Regions from separate parts of the Homo sapiens genome. Here region 1 is linked to region 2. Evidence: promoter capture Hi-C in human tissues and cell types (Jung and others, 2019). All regions are on one chromosome and are shown on one strand. Each heading gives the region's core, a stretch centred on a gene start or on the middle of the fragment in contact. The rest is flanking DNA. Distances are from core to core; before and after follow the strand shown. Region 1 overlaps SERPINB11 (serpin family B member 11). Region 2 holds the start of SERPINB13 (serpin family B member 13).

Region 1 (5,811 bases), core at 741-3,240, 140 kb before region 2:
CTGAATCTCATTATGTTTGTGATATGGAACAATCACAGATTTTCTAGATTTTAGGTGTAACCAGAAAGCCATGAGGACTGCCAGAGTTTTCATGCTGGGGCTAAGGATGGGCCTCCCTCTAAGCAGCTTTATAGGGACAATAGGAGGGGAATGCAAAGTTGCTTTTGTGGCTTATTTCCATGAGTCTTGCTGGTTTGTTACATTGTTTATACTGGCAGAGGCAGAGCTTCTGTTAGCTCTTTGAAGGGTGAAAATTCACCTCCCTGCCCCCTTGGTGCCTGTGATGGTTAATTCCATGTGTCAACTTCGCTAGGTCCACAGGTATTTGGTCAAACACCAGTCTGGATGTTGCTGTGAAGGCAATTTTTGATAAAATTAACATTTAAATCAGTACACTTTGAGTAAAGCAGATTACCTCCATAGTGTGGGTAGACCTCATGCAATCAGTTGAAGGCCTTAAGAGAAGATAGATTAAGGTCTCTTGAGGAAGAGGGCACTCTGCCTCCAGACTGCCTTCAGACTCAAGCTGCAGGATCAATTCTTCCCTGGGTATCAAGACTGCCCTGCAGATTTTGCACTTGCCAACCTCCACAATTGCATGAGCCATTTCCTTTAATTAAACTCTCTCTCTCTCTCTCTGCCTCTCCCCACCCCTAATATATGGAGATAGATAGATAGATAGATAGATAGATAGATAGATAGATAGAGAGATATATGAAGATATATAGATATAGATTATATAAAGATATATATATATGTTTTATAATTGACAATGGTGAACATACATATAGTGGGAACTTTAAGAAAAAGTCTGACATAATAAAAACCACAACACAGGACTATATGGGCTGTTTTCCAGTCAGGACAACCCACATCTCTCTTAGCGTGTACTCTCATTCAATAAACTCTCTGGTCTCTTAGCTAAATTGTCTCTTGGCCAAATTCTTTCTCTCAAAAAAGACAGAAACGGAGGACCCCCACACTTCCAGGTGACATCCTCAAGATGTTTAGGGTGAAAAGTAGATATCAAAAACCATTCTTACTTTTCCTACACCCATCATTGTTGCTTCATGTCTCTCCATGTTACCACAGTTAAACCCACTGTGCCTGTGGAGTCTTGGGTTATCCTGTGATGTTGGCCAAGACAGCTTCTTGTCTTTATGCCATGTGACGAATGGGCCTGGTAGACAATCACTGGGACAACCACGTGCAACAAGACAGCCATTCAGTGCAGCAAGGAAGTTGCATGCTATTATAAGTAGGTACTCTTCAGTCTTACACTTTGCTGAGATTGTTGCTTGCTTGCAATTTTATAATATTTTTATTGAAGATTAAAGTAAGCCACATTCTTCAATGCCCCAAGGAGAAAGGAAAAGATTTCATTAGCTGCCACCGCTGTCTATCCTAAAAGAATGTTGCCCTGTCACCTAGGAGGGAAGCAATGGCTGACCTCCAGCCACCTCTTCTAAGATGGGGCTAGGGAAGGTAGAAGTGGGGGACTCCTGCTCTACTCAGACTTCTGAGGAAGTTCCAGGAGAAAATATTCACAAAGAAGGCACTGAGAAGGCAGTAAATGTTTAATAGCCACTCTTATCTGATTACTGCTCCATGTTATCCTGAGTATAAAAGGAGGCTTCCTTTAAAACAAAAATCTTCTGATTGACTTATGCCTTTTTCTGTTTTGAACCTTTACTTGCTGAAGAATAAGATGGGTAGGAGAAGGAGGGAGAGAAGGAGGAGCAGAAGGATGAGGAGGATTGGGGAGAAGAGGAAGAAGAAAAAGAAGAGGAAGAAGAAGAGGACAGAGGAGGAGGAGGAGGAAGGGGAGAAGAAGAAGGAGGAGGAGAAGAAGAAGAAGAAGAGGAAGAGGGAGGAGGAGGAAGAGGAGGAGAAGAGGAAGAAGAAGAAGAGGAGGAGGAGGAAGAGAAGGAAGTAGAAGAAGGGGGAGGAGGAGGAAGAGGAGGAGAAGGGGAAGAAGAAGAAGAAGAGGAGGAGGAGGAAGAGAAGGAAGAAGGAAGGGGAGAAGGAGGAGGAGAAAATATTATTCAATTGAGTAGTATAATTCAATTCAATTCAAGCAATTAGCCAAAAATTCCACTGAAATATTGACTGAATTCAATTTATCCACATTCAAAGTATCCTTTTATAAGCCATTTGATTGCTGCCATGTTACAAGTCTTCACAGAGCTTTAAGGTATTTCATGCATTTATTATTCTCAACAGAGAATTTTGAACTAAAACTCACCACATTCTATTTACATATGCAAGGAAAATATTTAAAAATCCAAGCAAAGTTGAAGCCCTTCAGCTGGTTTTCTTTAAGCAGAGATGTCAGGTCACTTATTCAAGATCTCACAGATACATACAAGTCAAGAAAATCTAATCCCTTAAAATTTTACTCATTGACTTGATCATGTCACTGGACAGCACTCAAATGAGACACCACAGATAAGAAAGCCAGAAAGGCTTTCTGCATAAATCTACCTTTTTCCATGATTAACAAAGCCTTAGCTTCACAACTCATGAAATGGTTGGAAGAAATCCTAGACCTATTTTGCAGATGAGCAAACTGAGGCACAGAGGTGTGTGAGGTGTGAACAGCTTTTTGGCCGTGGGAAAGTCACAGGATTGTCTCTGCACCTCATCTGCAACTCTGAGCCTTGCTCAACCCCATCTGATTAGGGAGAGGCAAGCTTGCCACAGAATAGGATCGTGTTGGTATGAGTGTGCCTTATAAAGAAAAGGAAGGGGTGGTTCGCCTTGAACTGAGCTCTCATTGGTAGGCTTTTTACAGCGATGCTGTCCCCAGTGGCTGCTGCTGCCTCCGTGCCCTCTTCGCTGACATCCAGGTATGACTTGTGGATGGCTTTTGATAAATATAGGCCCTTGGTTGGTGACATTCCAGAAAGATCAGCTTTGACCTGGTTGAAGAGATCTGTCACCCCTAGAGATTTTAACAGGGAATTTAGCTCATACTTAGTTTCAAGTTTGAATCGGGGGAGGTGTACTTCAACTTCTCTTTCCATCATGTTAGAAGAGCTTGTCCACTCATGAAACGTCCCCGAATTCAGCTGCTTTTCTATCTAAGAGACAAAACACAGACAAGCCCACATGAGTCAAACACACGACCTCTACATTAAATATCATATGTTTTTATAATTCTCAGTGTGAGTGGTTCAACTTCATCACTTTTTCTACCTTTAATACAGTCTACTTACCTGGGAACAAAATCATACCATTAGCCACATTTTCCCTTTTCTGTTGTCTGTTTCTCATCTAAATTTCATAATTAAGCTTCTCAAGTAGGTATCCTACAGTCTTTTCCCTCAATTCCCTCAGCATACATGCTTCACTGCACTTCTCCCACTCTCGCCTGTGAAGTTGTCATGGTCCTGTTTCGTGGATGGACTCAACCATTTCTTCTGGGTTCTCATATCTGAAACATTTCATGATACCCTCCTTTATGAGCGTGATTCTTGTTTGGCATCCCTGATGCCAGGATCCCCATGCACTCTGATAGCTTTCATCCTCTCGTGCCCTTCTCTGTCACTGTTTCTGGTAGCTGCTCCTGAAGCTGAACTCTGGGCCACCTGTGCCTCTGCCCAGCATGTCAGCTCCCACATCAATGCTCAGCTTTCCCAAAGCAGCCTCAGCACACTGACTTCTCATTCTCCATCCAGTTTCATCATTTGTTTGTAAACCTTTCAAACGCCTCCCTCGGGCATTGAACTCTCCAGCCAGCCCTGTCCACAGCTGCAAACCACCATGCTGTGTCACATCCCATCTTTTTAATCTGAGAATTTAAAACAGTTTTGACAACTACTGCCTACCATGACAATATAAAAGCCACCAAAAAGCAAAGGTGGTTTTTCTTCCAAAGTATCTTTTCCTTTTGTCATTTTCTGCCCACATCCAAGAGACTATGACTTCATGCCACAGCTCATGCTGCCTTGCTTCTAAGGCATTTGCACTGCTCTTTGCTCTGCTCAGTTTAGCAGGGCCCCTGTGATTCTCCTATTCATCCAGCAAGGCTCGGACTGAAATTGCTGTACTAGGAATTCCTTTCTGACCCATTCATTCTAATCCCATAGTCTACTTCCAGAAAACTTTCTGCAGAATCTAAACTGCTCCCAAACTGCATTATGCCTCCAAATGTCTTTCACTCCAGTCAACCACAGGCCCTTAGGGACCTGATTCCCTCTGACTTAACCACAACCGTAAGCATACCTGTTATGGCCACCGCTGCACTTCTGTGACTACAGCTCCTTTTCAGTTGGCACCCGTCTCACTTCTTAATCCAAATGCGTACGTCCTGACCCTGCTCTTTCAAGAAGCCTTCCCTACCACCCGACACACACACACTTTGCTCACCTGTGCCACAGTGTTCCTTCCCTACCACCCAACACACACACACACCTTGCTCACCTGTGCCACAGTGTTTTCATCTCAAGCCAGCACTCCCTGGCTTAGAAGCCCCTAACTGTTAGGCTATATCACCCATATGTGTGTCAGCTTCTGCAGGCTTCCAGACGTCCAGCTGTTAGAAGCACAGCCTGCTCTATGCTGGGCAGCTTTGGCTGCAGCTGGGGAAAGGGGGTTGGATCCAAACTCCTTTCACGGCCATGACCACTTCTTAATGTGTGTGGTGCCCATTTCTCCACAAAACTGAGATGTTAAAAATGGTTAGCCTGTGAAAGTACAATTGGCTCAGAAATACTGCCCCCAGAGTAAAATGGCTTAATCAGATTTCTGCACACTAGGAGCCCAAATAGCATTATAACTTCATTACTATAGAAAGATGTCCCCCGACTATCAACCAACCAGTACTTGTGTGTATTTGTACAAAATATCACTTCTGCTTCCATGTGCCTTTCTCATGTAAGAATAGCTTGTTCTCCATAAACACACTGTCCTGAAAGGCAGAGGCCATGTGTCTCCCTGCTACTTTCACACCCCCGGGACAATCCTACTAAGGCTTAGATTGTGAATCAATGACTACGCTAATGTCATGAGATACACAGTGTGTCTGTGTGTGTGTGTGTTAACATGCACACATGCTTTAACTGCATTATAGCATTCTTATAATTTTACCTGTTTCAGATTAGCTATGCCTACTGGAAGCAGAATAATCATGCTTAATTTGTTGTTAACGTAGGGCAGCTCAAGAACTTGCATCTGCGGCTCCTTTACAAAGGCCAGTTTAAATGTTCCAATTTGATACATCATTTCCACAGTTACATTTTTACCCTGTTAAGAAGAAAAAGATTATAGTATACTTACATATGTGAGTGCACATGTGTGTGTACTGATTACCTTGCATAACACGGATATCTGCATGAACACTCTAAAGGCATGGGTAAAATAGAAACTACAAAGTAGATTCCTTATTACTTCCCTTTGCAAAGGTTATCCATTTTTTTAATTTAAAATAAGTCATGGTTAGAGACTGAATTGTTCTAATAATATATAGAGATAGCTTGGTCTACCAAAAACAAAGTCAGGATTTTTAGCTAACATGATTTTAGTGGGAAGAAAAAGGATATATCATTAAATCATTTTCTTTTTAATCTTTCCTCAAGAAACTCTCTAGAAAAAAAAATAACACAGATAGCCTTAGTGTGCTGCTGGAGAACATAACCACAGTATATATGGAAAGAATAAGCCAAGAGAGCATTAAGAAAAGAATGGGTTTTCTCCTCTGCCAGAGAATCTTAGTATCCCAAGTCTCCAGTTAGGTGCTCTGTGATAAAAGTTATTGTCACTTAATAAAGGAAAAATGAAAATCTGTAGAAAATACAATAAAAAGAACCA
Region 2 (5,829 bases), core at 1,056-3,555:
GATAGAAAATATTACTGTGGTGCTCAGAGAAGAGAAAACCTCACACAGAATCAGTCAGGGGAGAGTGGACGCTTCTGAAAGAAACCTCGGTGGTATATGAGGTGACATTATCTCCTTGCAAAATCAGAAAAAGGTCTGCGTTTACCTCTGATTTTTCGTGTGTGTGTGTGTGTGTGTGTGTGTGTGTGTGTGTGTGATGGAGTTTTGCTCTTTTGGCCAGGTTGGAGTGAAGTGGCATGATCTTGGCTCACTGAAACCTCTGTTCCTGGATTCAAGCGATTCTTCTGCCTCAGCCTTCCGAGTAGCTGGGATTATAAGCACCTGCCACCACACCCAGCTAAGCTCATGCCTGTAATCCCAGCACTTTGGGAGGCCAAGGCGTGTGGATCACCTGAGGTCAGGAGTTCAAGACTAGCCTGGCCAACATGGTGAATCCCCTTCTTTACTAAAAATACCTCTAATTTTTTTCTAAGGAACTCGTATTGGCTTATGTGTTCCTGTGTTCATCTTGGATGTGTCATTTTTACCCTTGTGGGGATTATGTCACTTTTTCCATAAGTACTTGGACAAGGTTACGCAACCAGTCTCTACTCAAAAAAATTTCAAGCATCTGGGAGCAGGTGGCGAGATGGTATTTGGAAAAGGAAGAGGGCTTTCCTGATAGACCTGAAATTGCTCCTTGTCTTGAAAGTCTCTGTTTCCTGGTCCACAGGTCAAGAAGAGCGTATTTTTAAGATAATGCAAGAGGGCTGACAACCCCCCCGCCAAATGAATTTGTGCATAGGAAACAAGGAAGCCCCCTGACTGCGCCCAACCTCCTCCAACTGGGAAGCGGTGGCTCCTCGGGTCCCCAGGAGGACCATGCCAATTGCAGTCAAGATGCCCACAGGGGAAAAGAAGATGTTGCCATCATTTGTTTTCTTCAGCTCTTTGAAAAGATCAAACCCAAGTCGAGTGCTGACGGCGCCAAGTGAATCCATGATGATTTTAGCGAGACCTAGAATAGCAAGAACAACAATCAAAACTGAACATTTGAATTACTCTGTGTCAGGGGAATCCTTTCTGCTTCTATTCCTCTTCTTGCATCGATCCGGAATACAGGGATTTCCACCCTTTTGGTGAAAGGTCGCTGCTGCCTGCTTCTCACGTCCTCTCTTGGCCTTCTCTTGCTGGGAGACATCCATCAATCTACTGGAGTCTTCCGTCATCCGGTGGTGCTCAGTTCTTATTTCCCCGCGGAGCAGGGTTAATGTTTTAATGGCTTTATTCTCTTGCTCTCTGTCTGACCCTGCCTGTCTCTGCCTCTCCACAGCCTCCTCTTCATGGAAGCTTCCCCAGGTAGACCCAGCCCTTGTCCAGGCGACACCAGTTTGTCCAGATGTGGGGCCCATGATAAGGCAGGGGGGTAGGCACAAGAATCTCCACGGGCCTCAAGTTCAAACAGTGCTCTCAGATCCAACCTTAGCAATAATTAAGCCGAGACTTGAATCCTTATCTGATACTATTTCTCAATTGATTCAAAATTCAGCCCAGAGAGTGACAGGATTGATTAAATCTCTTAAACCCCTTTCCCTAACTGCATACAAACTTGACTCTGGGCTGAATTTTTCTGAAGCAGAAACCACATATCTCTGGTCATGAATTATTAGGTGGAGATGAAAGGGTTTTCTTTTTTATACTTTTCTGTATTGTTTTAGGCTTGTACATGAGCTTGCATTACTTTTGTCATTTCACAAAAATAGTTTTTAAAGAGCAATTAATATTTGCCAAAAATAAATAGGTAGAACTGTTTTTATGTTTGCTTCATTACCAACTACTTTAAAACTAGTAAGTAAAGGCTTTAGGAGGAATCCTAAAACAAGAATAAGATTAATGAAAAATAAAGTTTTTTAAAGCCCACATACTTTGGGGCCTTTTGCCCTCAAGGGCTCATCCCCGCTAAGGCATCCCACATCTGATATCAAAGCTTTCATTTCAACCTCAGGTTTCCTTGCAGAGATCCTTTACAGGTTAACTCAGAAATAAAATGGATTAATTTACTGTCAAAGAAGATACATTGTCATGGCCATGTTGGAACTGAATTAAATAAAACTACCTCCAGAAAGTCTATGCAAAATAAAAGTAATTCTTTCAAACAACAAACATCATTGTTCTCAAAATACAGAGGTCTTAAATTGGAGCCAAAATAAGAACTTACCTCGGGTTTTTGGAGAGACGGTGGTGGCTGGGCAACGAACTAGGAAGCATAAGTCAATTAAGTAGCTGGGATCCTTAATTTATAGTTCTCCACATCTGCTTCAGCAGTGGTTTTCCACCTTGCGTGCACCTTAAAATCTCCTTGGAACTTTAAAAAAAATCTATGCCCAAGCCCCACCCCAGACCAACTGAGTCAGCATCTCTCGAGTGGAAACCAGGCATCAGAATTTTTATCACCGCAGGTGATTACAATGTACAGCCAACGCTGGGAACCAAAGGTGTATAGCCTGATGAACACATACATTAAATGCATACTTTACTTACCACAGATGGACAGAGCTGTGTCCTGACAAGTCATTCTCTGTAACAGAGTTATTTTTGCATTTGCATTATTTAGGAGTGCCAAATGCCAGGAAGAAAATGAAAGAAAACTATCTTGCTACAAAGGAACAAGAAAAAAGAACAAGAAAAGTTTGGGTAGGCAGCCACACACAAGCGAGCATGCGCACACACACACACGCACACACACATACACACACACACCTATTATTCTCAAGTATTCCATCCATTAATTGTAAAATATCTCATTTTAATTCATTCAATAAACATTTATCAAGTCTATTATGTACCAGGTACTGTGTCTAATGCCAATAATTCATAAGCACTCAATATCCTCACTGATTTCAGGAAAACAACACTACCAAAAAAACTCAATAGGAAATTACACCCCCAGATTCCAGTTTTTCCTGCCAACCCTGGAGCATTTCTACTGGCCCTACCAGTTCATTAAAAGAAACTGTGCTTGGATTAGTCTTAGCTTTAATCTTCAGTAAAGGGCGTGGAGATTTGCCATCGTTGCTGGGCAGCAGCTCCTAGAAGGGTGTCTTAGCTCTTCCTTCTGCCTAGAGGAACACCTCCCTAGATACGCAGGCTCGAAGGGCATATGGGTCATGTGTGTTCCAATCTCCATACTCACAATTTACTTTTTTCAAAATATTTTGATTGCTGCTCTTTAAGCAAACTCAAAGCCACATTTAGTTGATTTGCTTTTTAATAGGCACTGAGAATCTTGCAAATTGAGTAAGGTTTAGAAAGAATTAACACTTAGTGAACCCTGGATGCCAGTGAAATGGAAATGTTAGTTTTTTAAAATGGCATAAAATCTCTGAGTCGGCCATAATGCTTTATGTTTTAATATCCCTATCCATTTATATCTTCTTATTTCTTTCTCTGTGGCCCCTAGACTTCCTGTTCTATTGCCCAGCCATTTCCACAGGCCTTCTGCTTTTTGCTAAAGCTTTTGCTCTACCACCTGCTTTCACCGGGAAACCTGGCATGTCCTGAGGACTACTACATCCCATAGTCTTTTCTGGGAACGGCCACTCATATCTTGGGAAAGCAAAGTCACCATTCCTATTCTCCCTCGCACTCCCTCTTCTTCCAAGTCTTTCTTCCTTCAGTCACCTTCAATGCTCCCCTTTGGAAACTTAGACCATCACGCTGTGCTGCTCTGTCCCCAACCACAGGTCCCTCCGTGACTCTGCATATGGTCTTCCTGTCCACCCCAGCTGCTACCGCCACCCTGTACCACTTCACCATTCCTGTTGCCAGCGCCTCTCACTTCTCGGACCTTCACCTTCCCTCTTTTATAGTGGCCCACTCACACCAGGAACTGCTCTTGTTTAACACTCAAGCACCTCCATCTGGTGACAGATTCTCATCCTTATTCTCTCTAAACCTAATTTTCAACGCCTTCCCAACCTCTTATCACAGGACTCCTCCCTGTTCTGTTTTATCCATCTCTTCTTTCTAGGATCAAAACTGCCCCAGAGGTGGAATATATGTTGATGATTAAGAACCATTTAAAAAATGATTTCTATGCTAACAAGTGAGGAGAAGAAAGTTATCCCCTGAAGCAGAGTATTGATAGGTTCCCAACCCTGTTCCATAGCTCATAGTTTTGTTCCAACTTCTGTGTGTCTGTTACTGATACTGACTTGTAATATTTTTCTTCTCCAAGCATGTAATCTCGTAGTGGATGCTGCCGATGTTCCCACCAGATTTCCTTAACCTACCAGCATGCCTGTTACCCAGTTGTTGTTTTCCCTTATAATTCACAGATGCCCTTTTCTCGGCTAAAAGAGAGCTGCCTACGGGGGAAGCCAGGTACCACTCCATCCCCCGTGCCAGGGCACACCTCAGGCATGACTCACTGGCATAAGGGCATAAAAAGACAGCCCCTGGCTGGGCGCGGTGGCTCACGTTTGTAATCCCAGCACTTAAGGAGGCAAGGCGGGTGGATCACCTAAGGTCAAGAGTTCAAGACCAGCCTGACCAACATGGTGAAACCCTGTCTCTACTGAAAATACAAAAATTAGCCGGGCGTGGTGGCACATGTCTGTAATCCCAGTTACTCAGGAGGGTGGGGCAAGAGAATCGCTGGAACCCAGGAGGTGGGGTTTGGAGTGAGCTGAGATCACGCCATTGCACTCCAGCCTGGGCAGCAAGAGCGAAACTCCACCTCAAAAAAAAAAAAAAAAGAAAAAGAAAAAAAAAGACAGCTGCCTGAGTAAGACTAACTTTATAGTGCCACTTCTCCTCCAGACCTCCCCCACAAGATTAGACTGAAGCCAGTCTTTAGCAGAAACCACATGATTAACATTTCCCCTTGCCTTGTTCTGCTTCTTTCAAACAAGCATGCTCCCCATCACGCTTTTCCCAAAAATTACCTGAAAAATCCCTGTCTTTAGCTCTGCTTCTAGGGTGCCTCACCTATGACAAAAGTGTTGTGATATCTAGCCCAAGCCCTCATTATTTTTGCTTTCCAAAAATTTATTTGCAACCTTGCATATATTCTCTTTAGATAAAATTTTTAATTAGTTTATCAAGACCTATGAAAAACACTTTTGGGGTTTAGATCGGGACTCTTTAGAATTAATATGTTAAATGGGAAAATTTTTCATCTTTACATAATGAGCAAGCGGTATGATCATCTTACATGTCCTTCAATAGTTAATAGAAAGAAATCACGGGGAGAGAGACAAAGGAGAGAGAGAACCAGTTTTCTCTTTGTGATGAAAAACAAAACAAGCATGTTCACCGCCGCTGCTTCCACTCAAAATTGAACCAGAGACCCTGACAAGTGCAATAAAGCAATTAATTAACTGATGAATTAGATAATTATTTAAAAGGTAAGATAATTTAAAAAGAAAAATAGAATCATTCACAGAGGAATTGAGGTAAATGTTATGAGAATTAAAAAGTGAGTTTAGCAAGATTGCTGACTACAAGGTCAATATAAAAACTCAAGTGTTTTTAATATACTAGCAACACACAGTTAGAAACATTTTTAATATATTATTTAAAAGAGTATAAAAAAGCTATGTGAGGCTGGGCATGGTGGCTCATACCTGTAATCCAGCACTTTGGGAGGCCGAGGCTGGCAGATCAGCTGGGTTCAGGAGTTAGAGACCAGTCTGGCCAACATAGCAAAACCCCGTCTCTACTGAAAATACAAAAATTAGCTGGACGTGATGGCATGCACCTGTAATCCCAGCTACTCGGGAGGCTGAGGCAGGAGAATTGCATGAACCAAAGAAGTGGAGGTTGCAGTGAGCCGAGATAGCACCACTG

Evidence for each region. Contacts are between HindIII fragments. The study calls those that stand out against the background at their distance.
Region 1: a fragment that was not itself captured here is called in contact with the fragment with the promoter of SERPINB13 in region 2 in 2 of the 25 tissues and cell types used here (H1 embryonic stem cells and spleen).

Annotation. Positions count from the first base shown.
Region 1 is chr18:63,720,267-63,726,077 of GRCh38, reverse strand. It overlaps SERPINB11 (serpin family B member 11), which reads right to left. Exons shown (of 8, transcript NM_001370475.1): 7 at 5,092-5,247; 8 at 2,185-3,083. The coding sequence ends at 2,679. It overlaps LOC124904318 (a long non-coding RNA gene), which reads left to right. Exons shown (of 3, transcript XR_007066401.1): 3 at 1,093-1,168. Among named protein-coding and RNA genes, the nearest start is that of SERPINB11, 20 kb to the right of the region's middle. The HindIII fragment of the contact is 6,033 bases long and covers 1-5,006 here.
Region 2 is chr18:63,583,819-63,589,647 of GRCh38, reverse strand. It overlaps SERPINB13 (serpin family B member 13), which reads right to left and starts at 2,305. Exons shown (of 8, transcript NM_012397.4): 1 at 2,198-2,305; 2 at 816-997. The coding sequence starts at 980. RefSeq lists an enhancer at 1-1,019. The HindIII fragment of the contact is 3,313 bases long and covers 1,649-4,961 here.